Regions from separate parts of the Homo sapiens genome. Here all the other regions are linked to region 1. The links are contacts of gene promoters, found by promoter capture Hi-C in blood cells and fetal thymus (Javierre and others, 2016). All regions are on one chromosome and are shown on one strand. Each heading gives the region's core, a stretch centred on a gene start or on the middle of the fragment in contact. The rest is flanking DNA. Distances are from core to core; before and after follow the strand shown.

The links. Contacts are between HindIII fragments. The CHiCAGO score rates a contact against its expected background, and 5 or more counts as called.
Region 2: a contact is called between a fragment that was not itself captured here and the fragment with the promoter of RSPH9 in region 1, in 10 of 17 cell types (M0 macrophages, M2 macrophages, monocytes and 7 more). The highest score is 9.0, in M0 macrophages.
Region 3: a fragment that was not itself captured here is called in contact with the fragment with the promoter of RSPH9 in region 1 in 17 of 17 cell types (erythroblasts, neutrophils, M0 macrophages and 14 more); the score reaches 17.1 in erythroblasts.
Region 4: a fragment that was not itself captured here is called in contact with the fragment with the promoter of RSPH9 in region 1 in 9 of 17 cell types (erythroblasts, endothelial precursors, M1 macrophages and 6 more); the score reaches 9.8 in erythroblasts.
Region 5: a fragment that was not itself captured here is called in contact with the fragment with the promoter of RSPH9 in region 1 in 2 of 17 cell types (erythroblasts and monocytes); the score reaches 7.8 in erythroblasts.
Region 6: a fragment that was not itself captured here is called in contact with the fragment with the promoter of RSPH9 in region 1 in 1 of 17 cell types (erythroblasts); the score reaches 8.0 in erythroblasts.

Annotation. Positions count from the first base shown.
Region 1 is chr6:43,643,652-43,646,525 of GRCh38, reverse strand. It overlaps RSPH9 (radial spoke head component 9), which reads right to left and starts at 1,490. Exons shown (of 5, transcript NM_152732.5): 1 at 1,201-1,490. The coding sequence starts at 1,427. RefSeq lists a silencer at 1,883-2,071. The HindIII fragment of the contact is 7,744 bases long and covers 1-2,331 here.
Region 2 is chr6:44,095,419-44,098,292 of GRCh38, reverse strand. No RefSeq gene overlaps it. Among named protein-coding and RNA genes, the nearest start is that of SCIRT, 22 kb to the right of the region's middle. RefSeq lists silencers at 1,300-1,469, 1,247-1,541. The HindIII fragment of the contact is 6,139 bases long and covers 1-2,874 here.
Region 3 is chr6:44,076,055-44,078,928 of GRCh38, reverse strand. No RefSeq gene overlaps it. Among named protein-coding and RNA genes, the nearest start is that of SCIRT, 2.8 kb to the right of the region's middle. The HindIII fragment of the contact is 7,345 bases long and covers 1-2,874 here.
Region 4 is chr6:44,058,480-44,061,353 of GRCh38, reverse strand. All of the region lies in intron 1 of SCIRT (stem cell inhibitory RNA transcript), which reads left to right. Among named protein-coding and RNA genes, the nearest start is that of SCIRT, 15 kb to the left of the region's middle. RefSeq lists a silencer at 2,241-2,310 and an enhancer at 2,611-2,790. The HindIII fragment of the contact is 224 bases long and covers 1,235-1,458 here.
Region 5 is chr6:44,029,552-44,032,425 of GRCh38, reverse strand. The region is part of intron 1 of SCIRT (stem cell inhibitory RNA transcript); the gene reads left to right. Among named protein-coding and RNA genes, the nearest start is that of LINC03040, 30 kb to the right of the region's middle. The HindIII fragment of the contact is 6,000 bases long and covers 1-2,874 here.
Region 6 is chr6:44,010,684-44,013,557 of GRCh38, reverse strand. The region is part of intron 1 of SCIRT (stem cell inhibitory RNA transcript); the gene reads left to right. Among named protein-coding and RNA genes, the nearest start is that of LINC03040, 12 kb to the right of the region's middle. RefSeq lists a silencer at 2,838-2,874 and an enhancer at 2,127-2,874. The HindIII fragment of the contact is 3,154 bases long and covers 1-2,874 here.

The DNA.
Region 1 (2,874 bases), core at 241-2,740:
GCGGGTGGATTACTTGAGGCCAGGAGTTCGAGACCAGCCTAACCAGCATAGTGAAACCCTGTCTCTATTAAAATTACAAAAATAATAAATAAATAAATAATTGCCAAGCGCGGTGGGTGATCCCAGCACTTTGGGAGGCTGAGGCGGACGGATCACGAGGTCAGGAGATCGAGACCATCCTAGCTAACACGGTGAAACCCCGTCTCTACTAAAAATACAAAAAAAAATTAACCGGGCATGGTGGCGGGCGCCTGTAGTCCCAGCCACTCGGGAGGCTGAGGGAGGAGAATGGCGTGAACCCAGGAGGCGGAGCTTGCAGTGAGCCGAGATCGAGCCACTGCACTCCAGCCTGGGCGACAGAGCGAGACTCCGTCTAAAATAATAATAATAATAATAATAAATAAATAGCCAGGTGTGGTGGCACGTGCCTGTAATCCCAGCTATTTGGGAGGCTGAGGCAGGAAAATCGCTTGAATCCGGGAGGCGGAGGTTGCAGTGAACCAAGATAGCGACACTGCACTCCAGCCTGGGTGACAGAGCAAGACTCTGCCTCAAAACAAAAATAAATAAATAAATAGCTGGATGGTCCTGTATGGTAGTGACCAGGGAATTTTCCCCAGCTCTCTCCCCATTCCGCATTCGTTCTCTATTTCCAAAAGCGCCTCCAGCTCCAGAGCAGATACCTCTATCAAAGAGCACCACCCTCTCCCTCTGGCGTCTGACTCTTCTCCAAACTGAGCCTTCTCCAAACTGAGCCAGGCCCAGCACTTGGCTGGAACCTGGCTTCTTCTCCAGGTCCGCATTTTCCAGAAACCTTCCCACTGCTTCACCTGCGTTCTTGGCCCTGTCTCTCTTATAAACCCATCCGCATGTAAGTTTCTCTTGGCCTCCTCAGGCGGAGAACAAGCTCTCGCAAGGCCCCGCCCTCCGGGGGACATCGCCCGTCCATTGCCCCGCCCTCTCAGGCTCCGCCCTAGCCTCAGATTCCGAGACATCCCCATCCCCGCCCTTTCCCTCAACCACCTCTTGACCGTCCCCAGGCCCGCCCCCCAGGGTCTCCCCCATTCCACTCATCTCAGATCCCGCCCACACCTCCCTTGGCCCCATGGGCCCCGCCCCTTTCAATTGCTGCGACCCGCCCACCCCGCCCTGCCTCCAGGTAGCCACCCTCTGGGGAGCCCGTCCCGGGGGCCTCCTCACCTATAGAGCGTCTTGCGCGGTGCGAGCTGGTCCTCACTCAGGCCCTGCGCGATGTAGTAATCGGCGACGAGGCCAAGGATGCGGCCCCAGAAGAGAACCCGATCATAGCGGTAGTCGCGCTTAACCAGCATAAGAGACGTGAGCAGCGAGGCCCGACGGTCCGGGCTGAGGCCCTGCCCACTGCCGGACGCCAGCTCCAGAGACAGCAGGAGGCTGTCGGCGTCCATCAGGTCAGCGGCTCCGCTCAACGCCCGTCGAGTTGCTAGGAGAAGCCGCCTCCATGGAGACCTGAAGCTCCGCCCTTCCGCCTAGCTGGACGCTAGGTTCCACCCACCCCACCGCCTACCGCCCAGACCTCCTCCCCACGGAGGCCTAGGCATCAGCCCCCTCCCTCATCCTTTCCAGAGTTTGGGACGGGATGTCTTCAGTTGCCACGGCCACAGTATGGCTTCCCCTACAGTTAGGCTACAGTTGGGGTTGTAAGTCCAAACCCAGCCTTTTTCCATAGATATTTGGCCTTCCCTGAGCCCTTTCACATAGTCGACATTTAGAGTCTTTACTGTATATGGACCTGGGGTCTGGAAAGAAAACAATACAAAACCCCAACACTGACACTAACTGTACTATTTCACCCCAGTCATGTCACTTCTTGACCTCAGAATGATCTGTGAAGAATTTGAGATTCCTCCTGGCTCTAATTAAGATTCTGTCAACCCGACTACCTCCACCCGCACCCCACCCCAAGCCAGGTCTTACAGAATGAGGTCCATCCATTCTCTTCCATCTTCACCAGCTGTCTTCTTTATCTACCCTTTCCATAGAAATATTCTAAGTGACAAATGAAAATCTAGGCAATGGGGGCAAGGTATAGGGTAACACCTTGGGAAAGGAGGGTGAGGAGAGAGATACAAAAAGGGGGACTTTTATAGACTACACTTTCTCATCAACTACCACCTTTCTCATCAACTACCAACTACCACCAACTGTTGTTTTTAGATCCAAATGGTAGCAAGAGATGAAAGGCCAGAACCTCACTGCAACTGGAGCTTCACTCCCTGGGCTAGATCACTTCTCCACATTCACTTCTTGAGTCCCCAGCCAAGGACAAACAAACAGGTTCCTCAGCAAGCTTGTTGCCACAGGAGATGGGCTTTATCGTTAATGTTGCTAGTTGATATTTTCATTTCTGGATTCCTTTGAAGAGCACTCAGGAAATCAGAATGACCTGGGCCCCAGCTGATAAATAAGTGTGTAAATAACCCAGATAATTACTTTTTTGATTGTCTGGGCATTGTTGGTTTTCGGGGGTTGAGACAGGGTCTCACTTTGTCACCCAGGCTGGAGTGTAGTGGTGTGTGATCTCAGCTCACTGCAGCCTCAACCTCCTGGGCTCAAGTGATCTTCCCACCTCAGCCCCCCAGGTAGCTGGGACTACAGGTGTGTGCCACCACACCCAATATTTTTTGTATTTTTAGTAGAGACGGGGTTTTGCCATGTTGGCCAGGCTGGTGTTGAACTCCGAGCTCAAGTGATCCACTCACCTGAGCCTCCCAAAGTGCTGGGATTACAGGTGTGAACCACCACGCCCAGGCTTAGGCATTGTTTAGGAAGGCATTGTTATGAGATCAGCCTGACCAACATGGTGAAACCCTGTCTCTACTAAAAATACAAAAC
Region 2 (2,874 bases), core at 185-2,684, 450 kb before region 1:
ACAAGCCTGTATTCCAGTCCTGACCTTGACAATTACCTGCCAGTGACTTCAGGCAAGTCACCTTACTCTCTGAGTCTCAGCCTCCTCATTTGAGAAGTCAGGATGACAATGTCTGCCTTCCAGGGCTCTTGTGTGGATATGGAGTAGGCCGTAGAATTCTTGGCACATAGTAGGTGCTCAGCGTATCAATCATAGCCATTATTGTTATTTCAAATTTCAGCCAAAAATAATCACTTGAGCTCTTAGTAGGTGACAGTTGGATTAAGGACATTGGGACTGTATCTGGTTCAATCAGGGATGACTTCCTGGGGGAGGAGGGGCTTGAGCTACTTAAATATATGTGGGAAGTGGGGCAGCATTGAGTTAGAGAGAGGGCTGTGTGCAGAGGCCAGGGAGGGATTATGCCTGTGTGCCTATTATTAGTAATGATATTACTTATTTCCATATTATAGACAAAGAGGGAGAGTCCAAGTAACTTGTCCACAGACACATAGCTAGTAAGTGTAGGGTGTTCACATGGAAGGGATGGGCAGAGGAAGAGAAATGGGAAAATGCAGGAAACTGGGATAGTTCTGTGGGAGGAGAAGGGAGAAAAAGAATGGGCTTTGTAATCAGAAAGGCTCCTGAAGAGAGGGATGTGGGGGATTTAACAGGCCAGCCATTGCCCTTTACTTAAAAAAAAAAATGCCCAGGGGAGATGTAGGACCTTAAGGTCTTACCTTTGCAAGACGCTCTTGACAGAGGCCACTGGCTCTCCATCTCCCTTGGGCCCAAGCAGAAAGGATTGGGGCCCCTCCCCACAGGAAGGGGTGCTAGGCTGACTAGTCCTAGGAGGCTGGGCGTCTTTTCCCCAGGAACCCTCCAAGAACTGGGTGGGTTGAGAGCTGGCTGGCAGTACTGTGCCAAATGAAGTCGCTGCATGCCCTGTAACCTGGCAATTCCGCTTCTTAGGTTTTCAGGCCGAGCCGTAACGGTTCCTGTCAAGGACGGTCATGGCAGGGTTGCTGGGGTGTTGGAGGGAACTTGGGTGCCTGTCGCCCTCAGAGTGGGTAAATAAATGTGGAAGGTGCCCACCAGAAACTAAATGTGCTCACAGCAACATGAATGAGGTTTAAAAATACAGTGCTGAGCGAAAACAATTAAGAAATATATCTATAATGTGTGTGTGTGTTTTTTATATATATATATATATATATATATATATATATTACTAATTGTGAAACTAAAAAATACATGCACTTGTTTTGCAAGGACACATACAAATGGTTGGCTATGGGTTAGGATGAGGAATGAGAATAAAAATGAGATAAATGCAGAGTGTGGTGAAATCCAGTTCCTCTGCAGGTGGAAAGGGTGGCCAAGCGGTCAACCCACATTTCTGTGCACATTGTGCCATCTAGTGGGCAAAGGGGCGTTCAGCTGCCCTGGTCCTGGAGCTGGTGCAACTATGGCACCATGACATCCTGGGCAGGTGCTGCCTCAGCTGGGCCCCCAGAGCAGAGGTGAGAGGTGAGTGCTGCCTGTCAAGTGGGGGCCAGGCACAGCCTGCTGTAGGCCTGGCCAGTGGGGCTGGTAGCCATTTCTGTTGCAGCAGGGAGGAGGGTTCAGACAGGCCTGCCTGCCTCCAGGAGCTGTCTGATGTCAGGGCTGGCTCTTCACCGCCTGCTATGGCAGGCAGGCAGGTGGTTCCTGAGAAGGGAGTGGCTGAGACTCTGATGCCAGATTTTCACATGTAGCCCTCCCTTCTGGCAGGAAAGAGAGCATCTGGCAGGATCATTGTGAAAGCAAAGAGGAGAGAGGAGAGCAGGTAGAGACACTCAGAGTCTAGAGAGAGCAATGACTACCTTGAGGTGGAGTACGGAGGACAGACCCTGGCACCAGACTGCCAGGGTTCACATCCCTTGGGCAAGTCCCCTGTGCATCAGTTTCCCCTCCTTGGAATGTAATAGTACGTACCTTGTAGGGTTGAAGTGAGTCAAAATAAGGCACTTAAAACAGGTCCCCTTTCCGGGTCAGGGCTGTGTAAGTGTTGTCCACTCTCAGTATCTGAGGTTCACCCAACTCCTGTAAAGCCAGCACCCTGCTCTCATCCTTCATGAGAGTCATGGGGCATGAACAGAATGCCCTGGGCTGATGGGGGTCACTGCAGCAGGGCCTGGGGCTATAGGCTAGGAAGGGACTCCAGCCATGGACCCAGGCCAAACTGTGGAGGGAGGTGGGGTGAAGCAGGGCGGGGCCTGGGGCTGGGGACACTGCATTCTTTTTTTGTTTTTTGAGACGGAGTTTCGCTCTCGTCACCCAGATTGGAGTGCAATGGCGCCATCTCGGGTTCAAGCGATTCTCCTGCCTCAGCCTCCCAAGTAGCTGGGATTACGGGCTCCTCCCACCACGCCCAGCTAATTTTTTGTATTTTTAGTAGAGACAGGGTTTCACCATGCTGGCCAGGCTGGTCTCGAACTCCTGACCTCAGGTGATCCGCCAACCTTGGCCTCCCAAAGTACTGGGATTTTACAGGCATGAGCCACCACGCCCAGCTGGACACCCCATTCTTGGGGTCTGTAAAAATACTTTCTTGGCCGGGTGTGGTAGCTCATTCCTGTAATCCTAGCACTTTGGGAGGCTAAGGAGGGTGGGTCACCTGAGATCAGGAGTTCGAGACCAGCTGGCCAACATGGTGAAAACCTGTCTCTACTAAAAATACAAAAATTAGCTGGGTGTGGTGGCACACGCCTGTAGTTTCAGCTACTCAGGAGGCTGAGGCAGGAAAATCGCTTGAACTCGGGAGGCAGAGGTTGCAGTGAGCCAAGATCGCACCATTGCACTCCAGCCTGGGCAACAAGAGTGAAACTCCTTCTCAGTCTTGGTTACCTCTGG
Region 3 (2,874 bases), core at 138-2,637, 430 kb before region 1:
CCAAGATACAGATTGGGAAACTGAGGCTTATACCAGTTATGTGTTGTGCCCAAGGTCACCAAGCTGGATGAGGACTGACGCCTGTCTGGAGCCTAAATTCTTTCTCCTACACCAGATTGACTTCCAGAGAGTTCTAGGATACAAAGCTGGCAACAGACTTTCTGCCACGTAGAGGGATATGGCAGGTGACAACCCTGTCTGGCTCTGCTAATCAGGATCCAGTAAGAAGCTCAAGACAGGTGGCCACTCTGCTGGTAGGCAGAGGAGGGAGCTGTGCTCCCTGGGGTGGGTAGAAGTAAGGTTTGTGTGGGTGCTGGGTGTTGGACACGGGCAGGCTGCAGACATAGCAGCAATGAGGGGAGACTCTCTCAACCTGCCCATGTCCTCCTCTGAGCAATCTCCCCGCCCCAGAATTATTTCAGTTTCCTCATCTGTCAGTTCTAGGGGTGGACTTCATTCATTCAATACTGTGTCCCTGACCTCTGCTCCCTGCCAGGCTCTGAACTAGTCATGTGTCAGGCTGGATACTTAGATGGACAAGACAAGCCATCCCCTGCCCACAGCTGCCCCACCTGAAGTCTAGGCCAGTGACCTCCGAAGTTTTTTTGATCATGTGCCCTTAGCAATAAAAAAGATTGTTGAGTACGCACCCGTCAGATGAGTATGTTTTTATATAGTTTACCTTGTAAAACACACTCACACTAAATGAAAAAAGGATTCGATGAAAAATAAATAGGCATTCTAAAACTTTCTTCCAGTACCCCTGAACCACGCACACATATGGCACTTGGAACCCAACTGCTCCAGGAGCTGGGAGGGTAGGGTCAGTCCAGCCATACTCAGGACGGATGTGTGGTCAGTGTTCCAGAACATCCTTGCCCACCCCTTTATGCCCTAGCAAAGGAAGGGAGAAACTTCAGATACAGCAGGTGGGAGTGTGGGCAGATGGGAAGCGTAAGCAGGTTTATGTCTGAGGAGGCAGACAAGAGGCAGGTTTTTATTTTAGACTGTGATGTTGAAAATTTTGTGATCACTTTTTACACTGTCCCAGGACATACAGAACCAAGACATAGTGTCCCAAGTAGTATCTAATTTCATATACTTTAGGTAGTTCTATTCCATTTCCAAAGGTTTAGAATACCGCCCCACCTCAACCCCCAGGAAACTGGGGAGCACTCCCTCCACTACACACACTTGGGACACGAAGGACAGACCCTGGTTGGGGAGGCACTTAGGTGTCCCTTCCTTAGGGGCTTTATCTCTCACTTCCCCTCCTGGGTTGGAGGCTCCTGTGACCCCCTCGCCTGGGCAGGTCCCCATGCAGGGTAGAGCACTTGGAGGCCTCTGTAAACATGGGTTACAGGAGAGAGGGGGCAAGAGGCCACAGCTGGGGTACATAAGGAAACCCCTCTGTGGGCCCCCTTACTCAGAGAAGTCTCAGGAGAAACCCTTTCCCCCACCCCCAGTCCTGGCACCAAGCTGGAGAAAGACAAAATGGCTTGTGAAGGCATCTGTCTGCCCTCCAGGGTGGCTGCCAGGGGGGCAGCCATGATGGCTGGCCTGGTGTGGGTGCCTTTGTGTGCCATGACTGGGTGTCTGTTTCTGCAGTCACTAGGCGCTTGTTCTGTGGGGTGAGGGGTGTGGGGGTGGGGGCACGGCCTATGGCAGGGCACGTACGTGAGGCTGGGCACGAAAAGCCTCACCCACCTCCTGCCAGGTACAACCAGCTGCTGGGGCCAACTGCCGACCGCCTCCTCCCTTCCCTGGGCACGGCCAGGCCGGGGGGCAAATGACTTGGCAGGCACCTCCCCTCAGTTGGACCCACTAGGGCAGGGCCGGCTCACCTGGGGCACAGGCAGGGCTCCTGGCTGGGTGGGTGTTCTGCCAATCCCTTCCCCAACTCCTAAAGTGGGAGGGTGGTGGTGAGGCCAGGGAAGGGGCGCAGGTCAGAGATATGCCCCCTCTCCTCTCCCAGACTGTGCATGGGTAAAGCAGGGCAGAGAGGGGCTGGTGGAGGGGCGGGAAGTTTCTCTGTTTAGGGCCAGGAAATGATTTCCATGCAAATGAGATGCAAACTCCTTAATGAGTTTGCAATTAGGAGACCAAGGCTGCCAGGCCGGGCAGCGCCTGCAGGTTTTATGAATGGGCCAGCGTAGGCGGGGGGGAGGGGGCGCGCCGGCCCGCCCCCACATTTCCCTGCCGCGGCGCCCGCGACATGCCGCGCCGCACGTTGCTGCCTCCAGGCCCCGCCGCGACCTGGCCCACCGCCAGCGGGTCAGCTGCTCCGGACGGCGCGGGAGGCTGCCGGCCAGAGTCCCCGCCACGCCGCCGGCCGGCGACGCAAAGGAGCCGACGACACTCCCCCTGGGGCCCGGCAGGGGCTCTGTCCTCGGGCCCCCTTTTTTCCCGGTTATTGGAATGATTTCCCGAAGCAGGAAGGCCAGAAGTTAGCCTTCAGGCCCCGTTGTATTTAAAATGGGCTGCCCTGGGACTTCACTGACCAAAGGAGGGGGCTGGGCCCCTAACTTGGGTGACAGCAATGACCTTGGGAGGGATGGAATTATACGTGACAGGAGAGGGACCAGTTCCCATCCCAGAGCTCCTTGCACCTCTCCAATTCCCTCATGCCAGTCCACACCTCCCTAACCTCAAAAGGCCTGTTCCCACCACCCCAGGGCACCTGCTTTTTCTGCAGAGCCACCCTAGTCCACTTTGGGTCTTGCTCTGACCTGGGGCCCAGGAGAGGGTCTCCTAAGTGGGTGGGTACACACAGGTTTGCTGTGGTCCAGAAGGAGGCTGACCAGAGTTTGAGAGTTTGAGCCCAGTTAGGTCACAGCCCCCTACCTCCTCCCCTCCCCTCTCCTCCCCCTGTCC
Region 4 (2,874 bases), core at 97-2,596, 410 kb before region 1:
CCCCCAACTTTCTCTGGGGAACTTCAGGAAAAGCATCCCTGGGCATTAACTCATCTAACTGCTTATCATGGCGTTGATGTCACCCCTGAGCCTGCTCTTGCCCAGGCAGAACAAGCCCGATTTTTTCCCCCTTTCCGTCGGGCCTGTGTTTGCCCTCTCCATGGCATCTGCGGCCCTGTCTGGCCTCTTGCCAGCTTCTTGTGACCAAATGTGGACCTGGCCTGGCCAAGGAGGAGAGCTTGGGGGTCAGGGCCTGACCTGACAGCTGTCCCTCCAGGGGTCCCAGGCAGTGGTACCAAAATTTAAGCCTTGGCTGCCCCCACCCTGCCAGGTCTCCCTACTACCCCCATTCCATCTTATGCCGTCAGGATCCTGATGTGTGTTTATGGTGTGGTGCTCCCAAGGCATTACCTGGTCCTTTAGGTCCCCAAAGCGCTGGAGATATTATTCTGGAGTGAGGAGTCCAGGTTTCTTTCCCTAACTCATGCCACAGACCAATCAAGTGGCAGCTTCTTGTTCCTCACACCCCAGGGCAGGATTTCAACAGCAGCAATAATAGCACTGACTGCTTACTGAGCACTTGCCTTGTGCCAGACACTGTGATGAGCACATTACAGTAGCCCTTTCGCTGAATACTCACAACAGCCAGGTGAGGTGGGGTCCACGGGTATCCTTACTTTATAGGAATCCCAGGCACAGAGAAGGGTTTTGTCTGGGCTGACAACGGATTTAATGCTACACTGATTCTCTGTTTAGTTTTGGTTTGGTTTTTGAATCACTTCACGCTGGCCCTGAGTGAGGCGATAAGGCCCATTCCCAAAGCACAGGTGGGAAAACTGAGAGTCCGACTTGGGCAGTGAGTCAGGTAGGCCATCCTGTTCTGCTATCCCCACACCCCTAGCCTGGCTCTCTGTCATCTGAAGTGTTTTCCCAGGGTATTTCCTCCTTCTAGGTATTTCTCCTCATCTCATGCATTTACCTGGGCTCTTCCCTCCTTTCCATCCATCTATCTATCCATCCATCCATCCATCCATCCATCCATCCATCCATCCATCCATCCTCCTGGAGCCAAGTCCTCCCAACAGGGTTCCTCCTGACCTCACAGGGCAAGTAGGAGGAAGTGCTCCTGGATGGGGACATCACACCCCTGGTAACTCTTCTCTTCTAGACACCTCATCCATCCTACTCTGCCCAGCCACACATGAGTCGAGATTATTTCACCAGAGGAGAAGCTTGTATCAGTTAAATTTTGGTTTACACAAGATAAATAGTGAATTTTTTGCTCATGTAAAATATTTCTGGGATGTGGTCAGAGACTCCTTCTATCTTTCTGACCTGCTAGGTGTGGTTTCCATTTCCAGGGTCACCTCATTGCCCAAGATGGCTGCTGGAGCCCCAGCCAGCAGGAAGGAAGAAGAAAGCCTGAAGAAGGACATGCCCCTTCCCTTCAAGGAAGCTTCCTAGAAGTCACACTTATATTCCATTGGCCAGAACTCAGTCATCTAGCCATACCTAGCTGCAAGGGAAGCTAGGTAGTCTAGTCTTTATTCCATGGGGGTCTGGCTAAAAGTTGGGAAATAAACGAGGAATGGATATTAGGAGACAGGATCTGCCACAAAGCCTCTTTGTTCCTTTTAGATTGCAACTGCCAGAGGGTAAGTGGGGCCTTCCCAACGCCCTGCCTCAAGCAATCCTGGTTCTCTCCCTTCTCTGAGGTCTCAGTTCTTCCCTGATACTCAGTAGTTACTGCCTGGAGCTGCTAAAGGCAGCAGCACAATGCCACATCCGGCTGCCGTTGGCTGTTGTCCACCGTCTGCAGATCCAGGCCAGTGCACTCACTTATCTCACAACAGCTCAACAGGCAGCTAGTCTTAGTCCCATTTTATAGTTGAGAAATTGAGGCCTAAAGAGGTTAAGTAACTTGCCCAAGAGCACGCAGCTGGGCTCTGAGCCCAGTTCCTGTGTGTTTCTTTCTTTCCTGTTGAGCCTTCCCTGTAGGGGTGGATGCCCTGGGCCTTCTCAGGGTCTGACAAGAGGAACTGGAATGGTCTGAGCCCTAGGAGGGGCCTGTCTGGGAGGAGAGGGCAGGCAGGGGCGTGACCTGGGTCCTCAGGTGTCTCCTCAGCACTTACTCAGTGCCATGGTCAGCGAACGCGTCTGAACAGAGTCTACTGACGGGCTTGGGGATTTCTGCTGGCGCCAGCAACTGGCCACTGCAGCCACATCCTCAGACGCCACTTTCCCCAGAATAAGTGTCCTAGACCCAGCAGTGAGGAAGGACAGGGATAGGGCAGCTTTTGTCACTTCCCTTTCTTTCCTCCAGCCCTCCCCAGGGAGGCGGGGGAGAGGGGGACTGTTTACTCTGCTTTCACCCGGGGGAGGCAGCAGCAGGGGACTCAGCACCTACCCCAGGTGGGCTGCTTGGAGGGGAAGGTGGGGAGAATGTGACCAGCGCTGAGGGGAAGAGGCCAGACGCTGGGCTTCTCTGGAAGACCAGGGCCATGTGGGCCATCCCCCTGCCTCCGGGCAGGACTGTCCGTGCTTGCTGCCGAACATGAGTGTGAGGTCATTGCTCTGGTCTCAGGGGTGGGGGGAGGTGCTCTGAGCGTAAGTACGGTCACCGCCTCTACTTGTGGTTAGTAATGTTACTGTAATATCTACTCCACGATCTCTGGCCAAGAGGAAAGGCTCAGGAGTTGTGAGTCACAGCTGGCTGTCGACAGTGGGGCAGGTCATGCGCAGCTTGAATGGGGGTGTGCTGGGGATGGCCCTGAGACCCAGACGTAACCTCTGTCCTCAGGAGTTCCTGCCAGAAACAGATGATGAACTGGAAGAACAGATGTGAGGCTGAAAGTCCCCAGTCCATGTCCTCCT
Region 5 (2,874 bases), core at 127-2,626, 390 kb before region 1:
AGATTTATTTATTTTTGATCCAAATATCTGACTAGTATCTCAATTTATTGAATTGAATTCTCATGTTTATTTGGGCCTATTTAAAATTGTTTTATTCTTTCCAATTGATCTGTATGCAGGCACCAGTCCCACACTATTTTAATTATTGTAGCTGTATACTATTTTTGAAAAATGTTTTATAGTGCTACTCTTTCCTTGTTAGTTTACTTATTTTTCCTTCCAGGAATGTTCTATTCATTTATATTTATTTTTCCAGAGGAATTTGTATGTAATCATTTTGTCAAATTATCCCCCAAAAGCAGCTGATATTTTGTACAGAAGTATGCTGAATTTATAGTTTAATTATGGTGACACTGACATGCTTACAATATTACTGACTTTTTATCCAAGGAAAAGGTCTTTCTCCATCGATTCAAGTCTATGTGTATGTCCCTCATTTAGCTTTTACAGCTATTTCCATGTATCTGCACATTTTTTCTATGTGTTTTATGTTAGGTTTTTGTTAACCTTATTAATGGGATGTTTTTCCATATTCTTTTATTAGTTATTTCTTGTATTTAGGAAATCTTGTTTTTAAACTAGCCACTTTGATAAATTCCTGATATTACTAAAAGTTCTTTAGCTGATTCTCTTGGAATATCCAAGTATAGAGTAATATCATCCAATGATAATAACTGCTTTCTTTTTACAATATTTATACCTCTTATTTTATTTTTCATCTAACTGCATTGTCAAGTAATTGCAGAACAATATTAAATACTAATGGTGATAGTTTATGGGGAGAGCTGACGTCAACTTTAACGGGACTGCTTTTAGAGTCTCCCCATTAAACATGTTGGGAAAATTAATCTATTTTACATGCTAATATAGTAGGTTATGTTGAGTTTCCCAGAATTTGGCTTTCTTGTACTTCTGGAAAGAATCATACTTAGTCTTGACACATTCTTTTGTCAACACAACTTTCATCAATACTCCCTTCCTTAGCTCAGAACTTCCTCCGTCGTTCATCTTCCTCCCTTGGAAGCAGAGGCACAAAATCAGGGCTGGAGGTGTGAGGCGGGGGCATGGCCAGGGAAGAGCTGAGGCTCAGGACATAGCTGTTGGCCTCCTGTCCCGAAGGAATGAGGATCCACAAGAGCCTCCTTAAGGCTGACAGAGTATGTGGAGACGAGCAGGGGGTTGAGAAGCCCTGGGGGCTGGAGAGGACTGAACAGCAGGGGGCAGGGGTCCTTGGAAGAAAACCAGGACTCTTCTGCTTGCCCCCTGAGGAAGCCCTGCACCTCTGTCACCCTCAGGACTATCTTGAGCCCCAGTCTTTTGAGGGAGGCATGATCCAGAACTTTGGGCCTCTCCCAGGCTAGTGGACTCAATGCAGGCACAGGTGGCTACTCTTACACTAGGACAGGGAGGCTAAAGGAGAGCCCTGAAGGTGGCAGGAGGTCAGGAAGATGTCAGCCTGGCATGGCTATTTCTTAACATTTGCAGCATGCAGCCTTCATGCAGCAGCTTCTGAAAGCAGTGACCACGTCCTCCCCCCTATCTCCTCCAGCATCCCTAGGACTGTTCTTTGGTCCTAAACATATGAAGTCACCGCACCCTCCCTCCATTTCTTGAAGCAGTTTCGAAGTCCTCTGGCCATGACCCTTTCTTAGGAACCTGGCTGACTTCAGCATCACTCTTGGGTGAACATTGCTGTGCCCAGGGCTTGTTGGAGAGAGGAGAGGGTTAGAGGGAGGGAGGGAGGGGATTTTCCAGTGTCCCCTCTGTCCCCTCTGGGCAGGGATTGAAGTGGCAGAGGGTGTGGGCGATGTGCTGAGGCCAGGTAACCAGGAGACAAGAGAGCCCTTTAGATGTCCTCCCTGAGCTGCCCTTCCTTTCCTTACAACTGTCAGCTCTAGGAGCACAGAAGAGGAAATTCCTTGACCTAGAACCTTAGCATCTTCCAGGCCTACAAACCTTTAATTAATGCAGTCATTTAAGAGGAAGGAAGGTGGTTTTGTAACTGTGTTGTATACCTGAGTGAGTATAGACACATTCTCCGCTCTTTCATCAGGAGAGAAAATAGAGCATATAGACAGGTGTGGGGGTAAACTGAGTTTTAGGCAAAGTGAGAAGAGCATGGTCAGCCATTGACAGGAGGCCAGCAAGAGTGAGTGGTGGACACCCTGCTCTGGAGGCAGGGGACTGAACGACGTCTGGATGCTGACGAAGCTGTGAGCATTAAAGGGTTCTTGAATCTTTTCCTGCTACTTTTGGTGCATCCCAGTAGGGACAACTGAAGCCAACCCTATTTCCCAGCCATGGGAGACTGGGAATATAGTGGGAAGACTGGTCAGCAGGAAGGGTCTCCTGCCATCAGACTGGGGCTAAGGACAGAAGTACAGCTTCTGACAAGAAAGGCAAGAGCAAGGCGGGTCCCAGCCTTGGGGGATCCAGGACCCTGGGCAGGCACTAAAGGCAGGGACTTGGATAGAAAGAGGCAAGATGGGCCCTGGAGGTTGGATGTGCACACACAATGAGGGCTAGGCCTTCAGAATGAGGTGGGGTGCATGGCAGAATGAGGAGCCCTTTGGGCATTTGAGGCACAACCCAGGAGGGCTTTCCCTGGAGCCATCTTGCAAAATCATGGTGGATTCTTGACTTGTGTGGCTTCCTGTGGAAAAGTAGGTGCCACTGGTGGATCCTGTTAAGTGCCCTGGCATGAGTCTTACTCATTTCCAGTCTTCTCAATTTCTGCACCAGGCTCAGGCCTCCGGGGGAAGTTTCTAGTAAACGCATCCCAGATGTGCTGTATGAGGCTGAGCCAAGAGGGCAAGATGACTGATTTTTGGAAAAACAATGCAATTTCCATAGAAAAGCCTCTTCTTTGGACAG
Region 6 (2,874 bases), core at 108-2,607, 370 kb before region 1:
TCTACAACTGTACAAGAAGTACTTTGGACTAGAAGTGGTGTTTCTCCAAGGAGAATAGGGGTGCAATGCTTCACTATGCAAACTGCCTTGTCCATTGTGGGATCTAGCATGCCCGGCCTGGGGCACCCAATGCCAGAACATCTCTAATCACTATTACAATGAAAAAGACTCCAAAACATTTTCAAACACTCTAGAGACCATCTCCACTAGACTGGGTGATTCCTTAGGATCTTCCAGGTGAGATACTCTTGGAATCCTCTGGTTGGCGTGTAGGGACCACTGGTGGCCCAGAAACATGCAGAGGGCTGGACAGCGGGCCAATGGTGGGGAATAAGCTGGAACCAAGCTGGAGATGATGCCCAGGCCATATCCTGGCTCCTGAGGGCAGAACTAGTGTTCAGATTCCCAGCCTTCAAAGGGGCATGAACTCTCAAATGGCTCAGGCCTTCTTTTTTTTGAGATGGAGTCTCGCTGTGTCGCCCAGGCTGGAGTACAGTGGCGTGATCTCGGCTCACTGCAACCTCCACCTCCTGGGTTCAAGCAATTCTCCCGCCTCAGCCACCCGAGTAGCTGGGACTACAGGCGCCACCAATACACCTGGCTAATTTTTGTATTTTTTTGGTAGAGACGGGGTTTCGCCATGTTGGCCAGGCTGGTCTTGAACTCCTGACCTCAGGTGATCCACCCGCCTTGGCCTCCAAAATGCTGGGATTACAGGAGTGAGCCACCGCTCCCAGCCCTTTAGGCCTTCTCGTCTGGGGAGCTCCAGTCTGTCCTGAAGAACAGAATGCAGCGAGTAGGTGATGCCCCTGGGGAGGAATGGCTCACTCGTAGCAGGACTCTACAGGTGGGGCTGGCTGGGGCTAAGAGGGGGTCATGGGCTATTAGTGGAGCTGGAATAGCAAGCAAGAAGAGTCAGTTGTCCTATGCAGGCAATCATAGGAAGTTGGGTGGGGTGGGTAGGGGGACAGTTGTGACTTGGGCAGATGGAGAGGGCTCAAGACTGACCACTAGGCATGCCAGCAGTGGTTATGGACAGCAGAACGGTTGTGTTGCCCTCCTGCAGGGGAGAATGCAAACACACCTGGTTGTCCAGACTGGGTGGTGGAGAAGTAAGGGCAGAGAAAGTTCTCGTGTAAATGAGCATGATGAAGGGCAGCAAAGAGTGATGAGGCAACTGCAGAGCCGCCTCTCCTCAGAGGTGGTTTGTGGTGGGGCTCTGGGGGAAACCAGAGTGTTGCCCAATGTTAAGAGCTCAGAGTGAGTTTTCAGGAAGTTCTGGGAATCGTTGCAGTTGTTGATTCACTGAGTCATCCATTCAACAAGGATCTCCAGGGTTGGAATGAGAACACCCCAATCTTGTACATGTTCTGGGACCATAACTCATCTGGTGTGAGGTATCAGAGATTTGGTGACTGGGAAAAGAGGAACTTGGAAGGGGAAGAATTTGTCAGTGTTTATCCAACTGGGCCCAGTGGGGAGGCAGCTCTGAATCGAGAGAACTGGCCTCAAGCAGATGATGGGGGTCGTGACAAAGAAAGAGGGAGGAGGAAGGCTAGAAAGGATTATTTCAGGTACTGTCCCACCTGATCTAATGCCTGCAACCACCCAGTGAGCCCAAGGCTATGATTTCCCCTATTTTTCAGATTAACAAACAGAGGCCCAGTTCTTGAGTTCAGAAGGGCACTTCTTCAGGCTCACCGAGCTTGAATAGCCCTGAGAATCTCCAAACTGCCTTTGCCTCGATGTCTGCAATCTGTGGGTCTCAGATGGTGACTGCCAAAGTGGAAGGCAGTTTCTGTGTCTACTGTGGATCTTTCTGACAGCAACACCTGTCCCCACAGTAGCACCACCAGTTTTCCAGAAGTCTGGTTATATGGCTGGTGTCCCAGAATCTGCTCACCCATGGACAAACACATAAAACTGAATTTTTAAACTTTCCACACCAGAGACCAAGTCTTGGTGACTACACAATGTCAGCTAATGTGTTTTGAGTGTGTGCTATGTGCTTGGCACTGCTTTTAGCAGTTCAGATATATGAACTCATTCATTCCTCACACCAACCTGGGAGGGACATGCCTCTGTTATCCTCATTTTACAGGTGGAGAAACAGAAGCCTGGAGATGCTGAGTAACTTGCCCATAGTCTCACAGCTGACAAGTGGCCAAGAAGGATTCAAACACATGTGTGCTGGCTCCAGTGGCTCCAGAAGTCTGGTGAGGGGCTACCTGAAGCACATTGCCCCCTAGAGTTAAGGACAGCTGGATCTGGGCTCCGGAAGCCTGCAGTTCATTTCTGGCTGCACAACCAATTAGCTGTGTGACCTGAAGCGCATCTCTCACTCCCTCTCTGAATCCCCATTTTCTCCCTGGTTGAATGAAAGGATTCAACTGGATGGTCCCTAGCTTGGTTGGTTGCAGCTCTGACATTTCAAGAGGCTTCATCAGGCTAAAATAAGCACAAGAGCCACGCTGCGGTTGGGAAAGGGCAGCCTGGGACGTGCGTGCGTGGAAGCTGGGAGGCTCTCCATGGTGAGGAGGTGTAGAGGGCTAATTGCTAGTGCATGAGCTCAGCTGGAGGCCACTTTCTCCACTCTGTGCCCACAGCTGGCTGTGAGTCACTGACAGGTCACCAGCCACAGTGGGGCTGCTGGAGACAGGGCAGACCCTGAACATGGAGAGAAGACAAGTCTGACCCGGTGCTGGCCTTAGGGGGCCCAGGGGACTTGCATGCTCTTCCTAGTCCCTGCCTAGTGCTACTGCACCCTACTAGGAAGGCACCCCATCTCCATCTCCCTGAGCACAGCACCCCTTTTCATGGCAGCTCTGCCAGCCCTGGCACTCTGCCACTCAGCTCACATACACTGAGTAGCCA